Linked DNA regions of Homo sapiens: region 1 is linked to region 2. Evidence: promoter capture Hi-C in human tissues and cell types (Jung and others, 2019). All regions are on one chromosome and are shown on one strand. Each heading gives the region's core, a stretch centred on a gene start or on the middle of the fragment in contact. The rest is flanking DNA. Distances are from core to core; before and after follow the strand shown.

Region 1 (6,392 bases), core at 2,812-5,311, 630 kb before region 2:
CTTTTTCACTGCAGTCTGGGAGACGGTGAGGAGGCTGCAGTCAGCAGGTAGTGGGGAAGAGGAGGATAAAGGGGCTGCTGTCCTATTGAGCTGAGCACTGTCTGCCAGGCCCTGTTCTAAATACGTTCCATGTAACTTTTCAAACAACTCTTGGAGGCATATACCATTAATGCTCCCATTTTACAGATAAGAAAACTAAGGCTTGGCAAGATTAAGGAACCAGGTAACACGGTATGAATGGCAAGAACAAATGTAAGAACCTGCCTATGGCTAGATGTGGGGATGAGGCAGAGGGAAGGATATGGGAGCAGTTCCACTCTCTGGTGTAAGGGGGCGGTGCCACCTGGGAGACCTGAGGCCTGGAGGAGGATGAAGGGGCTGGAGAAGAGGAATTCAGTTTGGAATTCCTGGGGGCCTTAGTGACATCCAAGCAGAGATGTCCGCTGCAGAGAGACACATTCATTCAAGTCTTCCAGGAGAGGCTGGCTAGAAGTAGATTTGAGAGTGTGCACAGGGATGTGCTTGAAGTCATGGGCATGGAGGAGCTTGGTCAGGGAGTGTGGGGTTGAGGAGAAGCAAGCCCTGAGGCTTATGGGGGTAGGGAGGGAGAGCAGCTGGCAAGGGATTAGTGAAGGGAGCAGCCAGGGGCAGGGGGAGAAGCAGGTGGGCCTTGGGGGGACTCAGGGTACAGGAGGGGTCGGGGAGAGCAGGTGGATGTCAGCAGCATTTCAAGCGGCAGAGACTGGGTTGAGAAGAGTCTCCTAGGACCAAAGAACAGGCATAGCTGCTCAGGCCTTTGCGAGGGCGTTTTCCATGGAGTGGTGGGGACAGGATCGGGAAGCCAAGGGCTTGAGGATCCAGTGGGCTTGAGGGGCTTGAGGATCCAGTGAGGAGGCGGGGACAGAATGGACAACCTGTCCACCAGTGTGGCTGTGAAGGGAGGAGGAGCAGATGGAGGCAGGTGAGGGCTTGGTGTTGCAAAATGCTTTTTTTTTTTTTTTTTTGAGACAGAGATTCACTCTTGTCGCCCAGGCTGGAGTGCAATGGCGCGATCTTGGCTCACTGCAACCTCTGCCTCCTGGGTTCAAGCGATTCTCCTGCCTCAGCCTCTTGAGTAGCTCAGATTACACGCCTGGCTAATTTTGTATTTTTAGTAGAGATGGGGTTTCACCATGTTGGTCAGGCTGGTCTTGAACTCCCAACCTCAGGTGATCCGCCTACCTCGGCCTCCCGAAGTGCTGGGATTACAGGTGTAAGCCACTGCACCTGGCCTGTGAAATGATTTCTCATAGCATGTTCTAACATTTCACATGTACAACTTTGATTTTAATCCATTTGTAAAGCTTCAGTCACTGACTCCTATTGGGAACCTCCAAAGCACAGTAAAATTTCAGCTATCCAGGATTCTTGGCAAATGAGTCATTCTGGAAAACCAACTTTTATTTGGATGAAAATATTTGAAATATAGGATTTCTTTCTTTCTAAAAAAAATTTTTAATGAAAATTTTCAAATATATAAAAATAGGCCAGTGTTGTGGCTCACACCTGTAATCCCAGCACTTTGGGAAGCCAAGGCAGAAGGATCACTTGAAGCCAGGGGTTCAAGACCAGCCTGGGCAACAAAACAAGACCCCCATCTCTACAAAAATAAAAATTAAAAAATTAGCTGGGGGCTGGGCGCTGTGGCTCATGCCTGTAATCCCAGCACTTTGAGAGGCTGAGGTGGACGGATCACCTGAGGTGAGGAGTTCGAGACCAGCCTGATCCAAAATGGTGAAACCCTGTCTCTACTAAAAATACAAAAATTGGCCAGGCGCGGTGGCTCACACCTGTAATCCCAGCACTTTGGGTGGCTGAGGCGGGTGGATCACGAGGTCAGGAGATCAAGACCAACCTGGCAAACACTGTGAAATGCTGTCTCTACTAAAAATACAAAAAAATTAGCTGGGCGTGGTGGCAGGCGCCTAGTAGTCCCGGCTACTCTGGAGGCTGAGGCAGGAGAATGGCATGAACCCGGTGGGGGCAGAGCTTGCAGTGAGCGGAGACTGTGCCACTGCACTCCAGCCTGGGCAACAGAGGGAGACTCCATCTCAAAAAAAAAAAAAAAAAATACAAAAATTAGCCGGGCATGGTGGTGGGTTGGTGGGTGCCTGTAATCCCAGCTACTCAGGAGGCTGAGGCAGGAGAATCGCTTGAACCTGAGAGGAGGAGGTTGCAGTCAACCGAGATCCCGCCACTGCACTCCAGCCTGGGTGACAGAGTGAGACTTCGTCTCAAAAAAAAAAAAAAAAAAAAATTAGCTAGCAAGGCACGGTAGTGTGTGCCTGTAGTCCCAGCTCCTCTACAATCCTGCCATTGCACTTCAGTCTGGGTGACAGTGAGACCCTGTTTCAAAAAATAATAAAAGTAGAAGATATAAGGAACCCCTGCATCCCGCCATCCAGCTTCAGCACTTACCAACTCAAGGTCAATTCTGTCTCATCTCTACCCCACCTGCTCACCAACAAGCCCTGGAATATTTTGAAGCAAATCCCCGATGTTACAGCAATTCATCTGTAAAGCTTTTGTATGTTTCTCCAAAAGACACTTTAAAAACATAACCACAAGCCAGGCGTGGTGGCTCATGCCTTTATTTCCAGCTATTCAGGAGGCAGGAGGATCCTTTGAGCCCAGAAGTTTGAGTCCATCCTTGGTAACATAGGAAGACACCACCTCTCAAAAAAAAAAAAAAAGGCCAGGCGCAGTGGCTCACGCCTGTAATCCCAACACTTTGGGAGGCCAAGTCAGGCGGATCACGAGGTCAGAAGATCGAGACCACCCTGGTTAACACGGTGAAATCCCATCTCTACTAAAAAATACAAAAAATTAGCCAGGCATGGTGGCGGGCACCTGTAGTCCCAGCTACTTGGGAGGCTGAGGCAGAAGAATGGTGTGAACCCGGGAGGCAGAGCTTGCAGTGAGCCAAGATCGCGCCACTGCACTCCAGCCCGGGCGATAGAGCGAGACTCCGTCTCAAAAAATAAATAAATAAAATAAAATAAAAAATAAAAAACATAACCACAATACCATATTAGTTCTCAATTTTTTTTTTCGAAATGGATTTTTGCTCTTATCACCCAGGCTGGAGTGCAATGGTGCAATCTCCGCTCACTACAATCTCTGCCTCCCAGGTTCAAGTGATTCTCCTGCCTCAGCCTCCCAAGTAGCTGGGATTACAGGCATGCACCACCAGGCCTGGCTAATTTTTTGTATTTTTTTTTAGTAGAGACAGAGTTTCACAATGTTGGCCAGGCTGGTCTCGAACTCCTGACCTCAGGTGATCCACCTGCCTTGGGCTCCCAAAGTGCTAAGATTACAGACATGAGCCACAGTGCCCTAAAATTTTTAACAATTCCTCAATATAGTCAAATATCCATTGTTCAAAAATATCCATTGTTCAAATTTCCCCAATATCTTTTTTTTTTTTTGCAGTTGGGTTAAAATTTGGCTCCAAACAAGGTCTGCACGTTGCGTTTTTGTGCTGTCTCTAAAGACTCCCTTCTTTTTTCCATGTAATGCTTTTGTTGAGGAAACCAGGCTGCTTGGAAGGATGAGCCTGGGGGAATTCGGGAGAGGGAGAGAGGGGGCAGGGAGGAGAGAAGGATGGGTGTCCAGATAGATGTGCCATCCATGCTGGGGGACACAGGCAGAATGTGGAGGCCTGTCTCCCTAACTGGGAGGGGAGGCCAGGGCTGCTGAAGGGTGGGGGCCAACCCTGGGCACCCCCCCTTCCCCTCTGCCGCATCCAACTGCTGGAAGTGATGGGAGACAGAAAGATGGCCTGAGTCAGGAGCAGGGGCAGAGCTCAGGTTGTCGTGGGGTCCCGCTGCCCACGTCAGACTGGAGGTGAGGGATGGGCGGGGCCTGACAGCAGGCCTGGAAGGAACAGGATGTCTATGCTGGAGATAGAGGGAGAGGACAGTGCCAAAACCCAGCTCCTGGCCAGTCCCCAGCTCCTCCCTGCCTGGCCCTATCCCAGGATCCCCTCCCCGGCCTCCCAGCTATGATCTACCCCGGGGCCCAGACTTCAGGCGCCTTCACGATGCCGGCGGTCAGTGGTCCAGGTCCCTTATTCTGCCTTCTCCTCCTGCTCCTGGACCCCCACAGCCCTGAGACGGGGTGTCCTCCTCTACGCAGGTTTGAGTACAAGCTCAGCTTCAAAGGCCCAAGGCTGGCATTGCCTGGGGCTGGAATACCCTTCTGGAGCCATCATGGAGGTGAGGGGCAGGGGTGGGGACCAGCTATGCCCAGGGTCCCTCAAAGTGCTGGAGGGGCTGTGACTTGGTGGGGAGTGGGTCTGTCACAGCCATCCTCTGTCCAGGGTGGGGCAAGGCCTGGGACAGTGCCAGGCACCCCAGGACCCCTTCCAGGCTTGTCTCCTGCTCCACCGCCTCAACACCCCCCACCCCTGCCCAAGCTGTTTCTCCTCTGCCTCTCTGCTTCCCTGCCCCAGGACTTCTCTCTTCTCCTCTGCCTCTCCTTGGACCCCTGCCCTTCCTCTACCTCTGACCTGTGAACACACAGACACATGCTCACACACTAAGTCCCAGGCACACAGAAGGCAATGTGGACCAGCACAAACCTCCACTCTCCCGGCTCCATCCCAGCGGGCCTGTGGCTGGCCATGAGAACTGGGGGCTACCTGGAGGGAAGCATCCTCATCCCAGGTGAGTGGGCACCAGCCCTTCCCTGTATGTGTGTTGTGGGTGGAAGCAGGCATGAGAGCATCTTAGCCCATAGGTTTGTATTCAGGGACTTCCAAACCCAGACCTACAAAGAGTGTGTCTTCTACCAGATCTTGTTCAAAAAAGGGTTTGTGATGATGGAACTACACGATAGAGGGAGTGAGCAAGAACAATGAGGATTAGAGTGGAGCGTGAAATAGTCTAGGAGCATGGCTTCCAAAACATATGCTGTGAGGTCTGTCCACCTGAGAGTTGGGCCATGGATTTAATTCTGAGCCTCTTAGCAGGCAAAGCAAAGACAGAAAGCAGATCGGCTGTGGATTTCTGTCTATAAAATGTGAGTTCTTGGCCAGGTGCAGTGGCTCACGCCTGTAATCCCAGCACTTTGGGAGGCCAAGGCGGATGAATCACGAGGTCAAGAGGTTGAAAACCATCCTGGCCAAAATGGTGAAACCCTGACTCTACTAAAAATACAAAAATTAGCTGGGTGTGGTGGCGTGCGCCTGTAGTCCCAGCTCCTCAGGAGGCTGAGGCAGGAGAATTGCTTGAACCTGGGAGGCCAAGGTTGCAGTGAGCTGAGATCCTGCCATTGCACTTCAGCCTGGGCACAGAGCCAGACTCTGGCTCAAAAAAAAAAAAAAAAAAGATGTGAGTTCTGAGAAATGGCACGATTCCTAACTAAAGCCAGGACAAAATATCCCTTTTTTTTTTGTGAGATGGAGTTTCACTCTTGTTGCCCAGGCTGGAGTGCAGTGGTGTGATCTTGGCTCACTGCAACCTTCACCTCCCAGATTCAAGTGATTCTCCTGCCTCAGCCTCCTGAGTAGCTGGGATTACAGGTGTGTGCCACCACACGCAGCTAATTTTTGTTTTTGTTTTTGTTTTTTTTTTTTTGAGACGGAGTCTCGTTCTGTTGCCCAGGCTGGAGTGCAGTGGCGTGATCTCGGCTCACTGCAAGCTCCACCTCCTGGGTTCATGCCATTCTCCTGCCTCAGTCTCCCGAGTAGCTGGGACTACAGGTGCCTGCCACCACCCCCAGCTAATTTTTTGTACTTTTAGTAGAGATGGGGTTTCACCTTGTTAGCCAGGATGGTTTCGATCTCCTGACCTCGTGATCCGCCCGCCTTGGCCTCCCAAAGTGCTGGGATTACAGGCGAGCCACCGCGCCCAGCCTAATTTTTGTATTTTTTAAGTAGAGACGGGTTGTCACCATGTTGGCCAGGCTGGTCTTGAACTACTGACCTCAGATGATCCGCCTGCCTCGGCTTCCCAAAGTGCTGGGATTATAGGCATGAGCCACCGCGCCCAGCCCAAAATATTCCTTTAAGATGATAGGCCCTGTCAGTAGGGTTTCTTCCAGTCCTCCTTCATAGAGACACAGGAGGTAACAAAAAGGTGGGCTGTTTCTCACAGCACCAAGCTGGGCCCTGCTTCAGGACCAGGATGGCAAAACTTATACAACACTCACTGCTATGGGCCTTGCCAAATCTGGGTGTCACAGATCATGTGAGGGAGCAGAGGCACCTTCTCCAAGATCACCCAGTGATGTGTGCATTGTCTGTTCATTCATTCGTTCACCCTGATGTTCCTCTGTGCCCAGCCCAGAGATACCAGGCAGAGTGAGGCTGAAGGAGCCCATGGTCTGGGGCAAGGTCTCACCCACAGGCC
Region 2 (6,428 bases), core at 1,805-4,304:
TTCGTCCCTCTCTTAGGCTTGATCTGTAAAACTCTTCTGACTCAAAATTTTAGAGCTTTTCTGATACCATAATGCTCATTAAATCTGTAAAAATTAAAAATAACGCCAAGTGTGGTGGCTCACGCCTGTAATCTCAGCACTTTGGGAGGCTGAGGCGGGCGGATCACCTGAGGTCAGGAGTTCAAGACCAGCCTGGTCAACATGGTGAAACCCCGTCTCTACTAAAAACACAAAAATTAGCTGGGCGTGGTAGCGGGCGCCTGTAATCCCAGCAACTTTGGAGGCTGAGGCAGGAGAATTGCTTGAACCTGGGAGGCGGAGGTTGCAGTGAGCCAAGATCACGCCAATGCACTCCAGCCTGGGCAACAGAGCGAGACTCCCTCTCAAAAATAAATAAATAAATAAATAACTTTAAAAAAACCCCATATCGTTATTACTTACTATTTTAACAAGAATGTAAGTAGCAAATTTGTTTTTTTTTTTGAGACACAGTCTTACTTTGTCACCCAGGCTGGAGTGCAGTGGTGCAATCTCAACTCACTGCAACCTCTGCCTCCCAGGTTCAAGCAATTCCTGTGCCTCAGCCTCCCAAAGCAGCTGGAATTACAGGTGTGTGCCACTACACCTGGCTAATTTTTGTATTTTTAGTAGAAAAGGGGTTTTGCCATGTTGGCCAGGCTGTTCTCAAACTCCTGACCTCAAGTGATCTGCCCGCTTCAGCCACCCAAAGTGCTGGGATTACAGGTGTGAGCCACCATGCCCAGCCTTAAGTAGCAAATCTAAATTTTTATTCCGTACTTTCCTGGACACTGGGAGATATAAATATCCAAAATGTGCAACATCCTTTAAAATGCAACCAAGTACTCATCAAATGTCATGCATGAACTTGGAACACAGCCATTCTATAAATTTTTTGTTTCTTTTAAGAAACAAGGGGTCGGGCGCGGTGGCTCATGCCTGTAATCCCAGCACTTTGGAAGGCCAAGGCAGGCGGATTACGAGGTCAGGAGATCGAGACCATCCTGGCTAACAAGGTGAAGCCCCGTCTTTACCAAAAATACAAAAAATTAGCCAGGCGTGGTGGCAGGCGCCTGTAGTCCCAGCTGCTCGGGAGGCTGAGGCAGGAGAATGGCGTGAACCTGGAAGGCAGAGCTTGCAGTGAGCTGAGATCGCGCCACTGCACTCCAGCCTGGGTGACAGAGCGAAGACTCTGTCTCAAAAAAAAAAAAAAAAAAAAGAACAAGAAAAAGAAACAGGGTTGGCCAGGTGCAGTGGCTCACGCCTGTAATCTCAGTACTTTGGGAGGCCAAGTCGGGTAGATCACGTGAGGTGAGGAGCTCAAGACCAGCCTAGCCAACATGGTGAAACCCCATCTCTACTAAAAATACAAAAAAATTAGCCGGGCATGGTGGCGTGTGCCTATAATCCCAGCTACTCAGGAAGCTGAGTCAGTAGAATTGCTTGAACTTGGGAGGTGGAGGTTGACCGAGATCTCGCCACTACACTCCAGCGTGGGCAACAGAGCCAGACTCCGTCTCAAAAAAACAAAAAACAAAATAAAAAAAAAACAGGGTCTTGCTCTATTGCCCAGGCTAGAGTACAGTGGCATGATCATAGCTCATTACAGACTGCTGGGCTCAAACAATCCTCCCACCTCAGCTTCCTAAGTAGCTGGGACTACAGAGTGGCTAATAAGAAAAAAATTTTTTTTAGAGACAGGGTCTCCCTACATTGCACAGGCCGGTCTTGAACTCCTGGCCACAAGCGATCCTCCTGCCTCAGCCTCCCGAGTAGCTGGTGTATACCACTACACTTGGCTTCCACTCTGTAAACAGGTACACACCACCACGCTTGGCTTCCATTTTGTAAATTTTGATTCCAGGTTTCAGGTACAGCTCTAGTAAGGTTCTAGCTTATCACCTCTGGGTCTTTTTTTCCCTTTCTGCCCATCAAATGAAATACTTTGAAAACTCACTTCATAATTTTGTTGGAGAGAACAGTCATCTTCTTTGCTCCATAATCATAAGCATTCTCATTTTTAGACTAATAAATGTCAATCAGAATGAACAATCCAGGCTGAGCGTGTGGCTCTTGCCTCTAATCCCAGCACTCTCAGAGGCCGAGGCGGGTGGATCACGAGGTCAGGAGATTGAGACCATCCTGGCTAAAACGGTGAAACCCCATCTGTACCAAAACTACAAAAAATTAGCTGGGTGCAGTGGCACGCACCCGTAGTCCCAGCTACTCGGGAGGCTGAGGCAGGAGAATCGCTTGAACCCAGGAGGCAGAGGTTGCAGTGAGCAAAGACCATGCCACTGCACTCCAGCCTGGGTAACAAGAGTGAGACTCTGTCTCAAAAAAAAAAAAAAAAAAAAAAAAAAAAAAAAACTGATTTTTTTTTTCATTTTTACATAATTTTTCCTTCTAACCATCTTTATACATATACGTAACTTTGGCACCTGTCCACTTACAAACTGCATCAACTAAGTTTTGGTGTACAAATATCTTGAAAGATGAAAGAATACTATCATACATCTTTTTGGCAAAGTGCAGTGGTTTTGATTGTTTTTTTTTTTCATTTCTTAAAAATAGAAATGGGGTCTCACTATGTTGCCCAGGCTGGTCTCGAACGTCTGGGCTCAAGCGATCCTCCCACCTCAGCCTCCCAAGAAGGTGGGATTGCAGGCATATGCCACTGCACCCAGCCCAGTTCTGATTCTTATAAAAAGAAAATCACATTCTAGCTGGATGCCTATAGTGCCAGTTACTTGGGGGAACTGAAGCAGGAGAACAGCTTGAGCTCAGGAATTTAAATCCAGCCTGGGCAACATAGTGAGATAGATCCCATCTTTAAAAAAAAAAAAAAAAAAAAAAAAATTCACCGCTGGGCATGGTGGCTCACGACTGTAATCCCAGCACTTTGGGAGGCCAAGGCAGGTGGATCACCTGAGGTTGGGAGTTCAAGACCAGCCTGACCAACATGGAGAAACCCCATCTTTTACTAAAAATACAAAAAATTAGCCAGGCATGGTGGTACATGCCTGTAATCCCAGCTACTTGGGAGGCTAAGGCAGGAGAATCCCTTGAACCCAGGAGGCGGAGGTTGCGGTGAGCCGAGATTGTGCCATGGCACTCTAGCCTGGGCAATAAGAGCAAAACTCTGTCTCAAAAAAAAAAAAAAAAAAAAAATCACATTCTAAACTCATCTAGGGTACAGTCACATATGTATATGGGTGGAGACAGAATCTTGCTATGTTGCCCAGCCTGGTTTTGAAGTACTGGGCTCAAGTGATCCTCCCATCTCAGCCTCCCGAGATGCTAGGATTACAGGTGCACGCCACCATGCCTGGCTGAAGACTCTTATTTTACAACTTGGTTTATATAACTTTACCGTCATCCTAACAGTCTAGAGTACTACTGTCACACAGCATTCATCTACTAGTTCCTCTGAAATGTCTTCTGTAGTCAGTTTTCTTCTCTTTGCCATTATAGGAGGAAGATGAAAAACTATGGATTTTTAAATATGTCCAATGAAAGCTTAAAAGTTGAAAAATAGTATAAAAATTACCATGTACTCCTTCACCTAGATTCTCCAAATGTTAACATCTTACATAATGTTTAAGATGGTATCTCCCAACTTCTTTTATACTTTCTTGAAAGATGCTGTAGGCTGGGCATGCTGGCTCATGCCTGGAATCCCAGCACTTTGGGAGGCTAAGGTGGGTGGATTGTTTGAGCCCAGGAGTTCGAGACTAGCCTAGACAACATGGCGAAACGTTCTCTCTACAAAAAAAATACAAAAATTAGCCAGGTGTGGTGGCACATGCCTGTAGTCCCAGCTACTTGGAGGGCTGAGGTGAGATTGCTTGAGTCTGGGAGGCGAAGGTTGCAGTGAACTGAGATTGCGCCACTGCACTCCAGCCTGGGTGACAGAGTGAGACCCTGTATCCAAAAAGAAAAAAAAAGTTGCTGTAAGTTTTGGGAAAAGCAATAAGAAAACTGAAGGGCTGCGGTGCACACCTATAGTCCCAGCTACCGAGGATGCTTAGGAGGGATGATCACTTGAGCCCAGAAGTTTGAGGCTGCAGAGAGCTATGATCATACCACTGCCCTTCGGCCTGGGCAACAAAGCGAGGCCCCATCTCTAAAAACTGAAGTGTAAAACTAATGATTTATTTCACTACTGCATATCCTTTTAAGCAATTCTATAATTCTCCCTTTGTCATATTATTTTAGTCCTCTTTAGCATATTTGAGAATTGATGAGTAATGATGAAATAATTCCTAGGATGATGAAATACCAAAACATTTCAATATACAGGAAAAATAAGATCAGTAAAACTCCACAACATTGTTTCGATGTACAAGTGGTAATAGCTAAAATGAGTTTATTCCTTTGGAAAAAAAATAAATTTTCAGGCTGGGCATGGTGACTCATGCCTGTAATCGCAGCACTTCGAGAGATAAGAAGTTTGAGGCCAGCCTGGCCAATATGGTGAAACCCCATTTCTACTAAAAATACAAAAATTAGCTGGGTATGGTGGTACACACCTGTAATCCCAGCTACTCGGGAGGTTGAGGCAGGAGAACCAGTTGAACCCAGGAGGCGGAGGTTGCAGTGAGCCAAGATCGCGCTACTGCACTCCAGCCTGGGGATGGAACAAGACCGCATCTCAAAAATAAAATTAAAAATAAAAATAAATTTTCTCTTTGCTGTTTTGAAGACCTCCAATAAATAAAAGTCATGAAATATACATCTTTACAAGTAGTTAGTACTGCTTTAAAAAAAAAAAGCAAAACTCAAAAACTAAAATTGAGTCCAGACCAGGTGCAGTGGCTCAGGCCTGTAATCCCAGCACTTTGGGAGGCCGAGGTGGGCAGACTGCTTGAGCCCAGGAGTTTGAGACCAATCTGGGCAATACAGACTTCGGTGACACTGATGTTACCCAGACATTTCTTACTACTGTAGGTAGAAAATGAACAGAAATTTAGTTAAATTCAAAATGTATTAATAATTGTTATCAATGTTGATTTTCTGATTTGATCACTGTATTGTGGTTTTAAAAGATGCACTTGGGGAATCTAGGTGAAGATTATAGGGCTATTATTTGTATTATTTTTGCAACTCTCTTTGAAGTCTAAAATTATTTCCAAAGAAAAAGTTTTTTAAAAATTAAGTATTAGGCCAGGCATGGTGGCTAACACCTGTAATCTCAGCACTTTGGGTGTCTGAGGCAGGTGGATTGCTTGAGTCCAGGAAGACCAGCCTGAGCAACATGGTAAGACCCTATCTCTATTTAATATAAGAAATATAATCTTTCAAAATATCTATAAGGCCAGGTGCAGTGGCTCATGCCTGTAATCCCAGCACTTCGGGAGGCCAAGGCAGGTGGATTGCCTGAGGCCAGGAGTTCAAGACAAGGCTGGTCAACGTGGTAAAACCCTGTCTCTACTAAAAATACAAAAAATTAGCCAGGCATGGTGGTGGCGCCTGTGATCCCAGCTACTCAGGAGGCTGAGACAGGAGAACTGCTTGAACCTGGGAAGGGGAGATTGCAGTGAGCTGAGATCGCGCTACTGTACTCCAGCCTGGGCGACAGAGCGAGACACTGTCTCAAAAAAAAAAAAAAAAAAAAAAAAATTAGCCAGGCATGGTGGTGGGTGCCTGTAATCCCAGCTACTCGGGAGGCTAAGGCAGAAGAATCACTTGAACCCAGGAGGTGGAGGTTGCAGTGAGCTGAGATTGTGCCAAGCCGAGATTGCACCACTGCACTCCAGCCTGGGAGACAGAGCAAAACTCCGTCTCAAAATAAATAAATAAATAAATAAATAGCTGGGTGTAGTGGCGCATGCCTGTAATCCCAGCTGCTCGGGAGGCTGAGGCAGGAGAATCACTTGAAGCTGGGTGTGTGTATGTGTGTGTGTGCAATGAGCCGAGATAGTACCACTGCACTCTAGCCTGGGCAACACAGTGAGACCTTGTCTCAAAAAAAAGAAAAAAAAAAAAAAAAAAGAAAGAAAGAAAAGAAAATAGAGCATTACAAAGAATAGAACTTGAGATAGTTCTTGAAAGGACAGGTGGAAGTGTCACTCACATCTCACACTGCTTTTATCACATTAGCTCTTCTGCTCCCACACAAACATGGGCACATAACATCTTTAACCATCTATGTATCCTCTACCATGCTCAGCATACTGCTTTGTCTTGTCTGTGGTGGAAACCAAATCATTCATTCATGTATACATTCTCTAATATCTACTGAGCACATACTATGCACCAGGTGTTTTAGGAGCTGGAGATACAACGGTAAACAAAAATCTCTTCCCTCAAGAAGCTTATATTTTAGTGAAAGATGACACAATAGACAAAGTATAATATTTAGAATAGTAGGCAGTGACAGGTATCAAGAACAAAAGGCAAGGAAGAGT

Evidence for each region. The method cuts DNA at HindIII sites, captures the fragments that hold promoters and counts their contacts. A contact is called where the count stands out against the background at its distance.
Region 1: the fragment with the promoter of LMAN1L here is called in contact with a fragment that was not itself captured in region 2 in 1 of the 25 tissues and cell types used here (dorsolateral prefrontal cortex).

The regions. Positions count from the first base shown.
Region 1 is chr15:74,808,774-74,815,165 of GRCh38, forward strand. LMAN1L (lectin, mannose binding 1 like) reads left to right here and starts at 4,062. Exons shown (of 14, transcript NM_021819.3): 1 at 4,062-4,256. The coding sequence starts at 4,082. The HindIII fragment of the contact is 6,905 bases long and covers 1,953-6,392 here.
Region 2 is chr15:75,439,766-75,446,193 of GRCh38, forward strand. All of the region lies in intron 1 of SIN3A (SIN3 transcription regulator family member A), which reads right to left. Among named protein-coding and RNA genes, the nearest start is that of SIN3A, 8.7 kb to the right of the region's middle. RefSeq lists a silencer at 1,238-1,387. The HindIII fragment of the contact is 9,103 bases long and covers 1-6,428 here.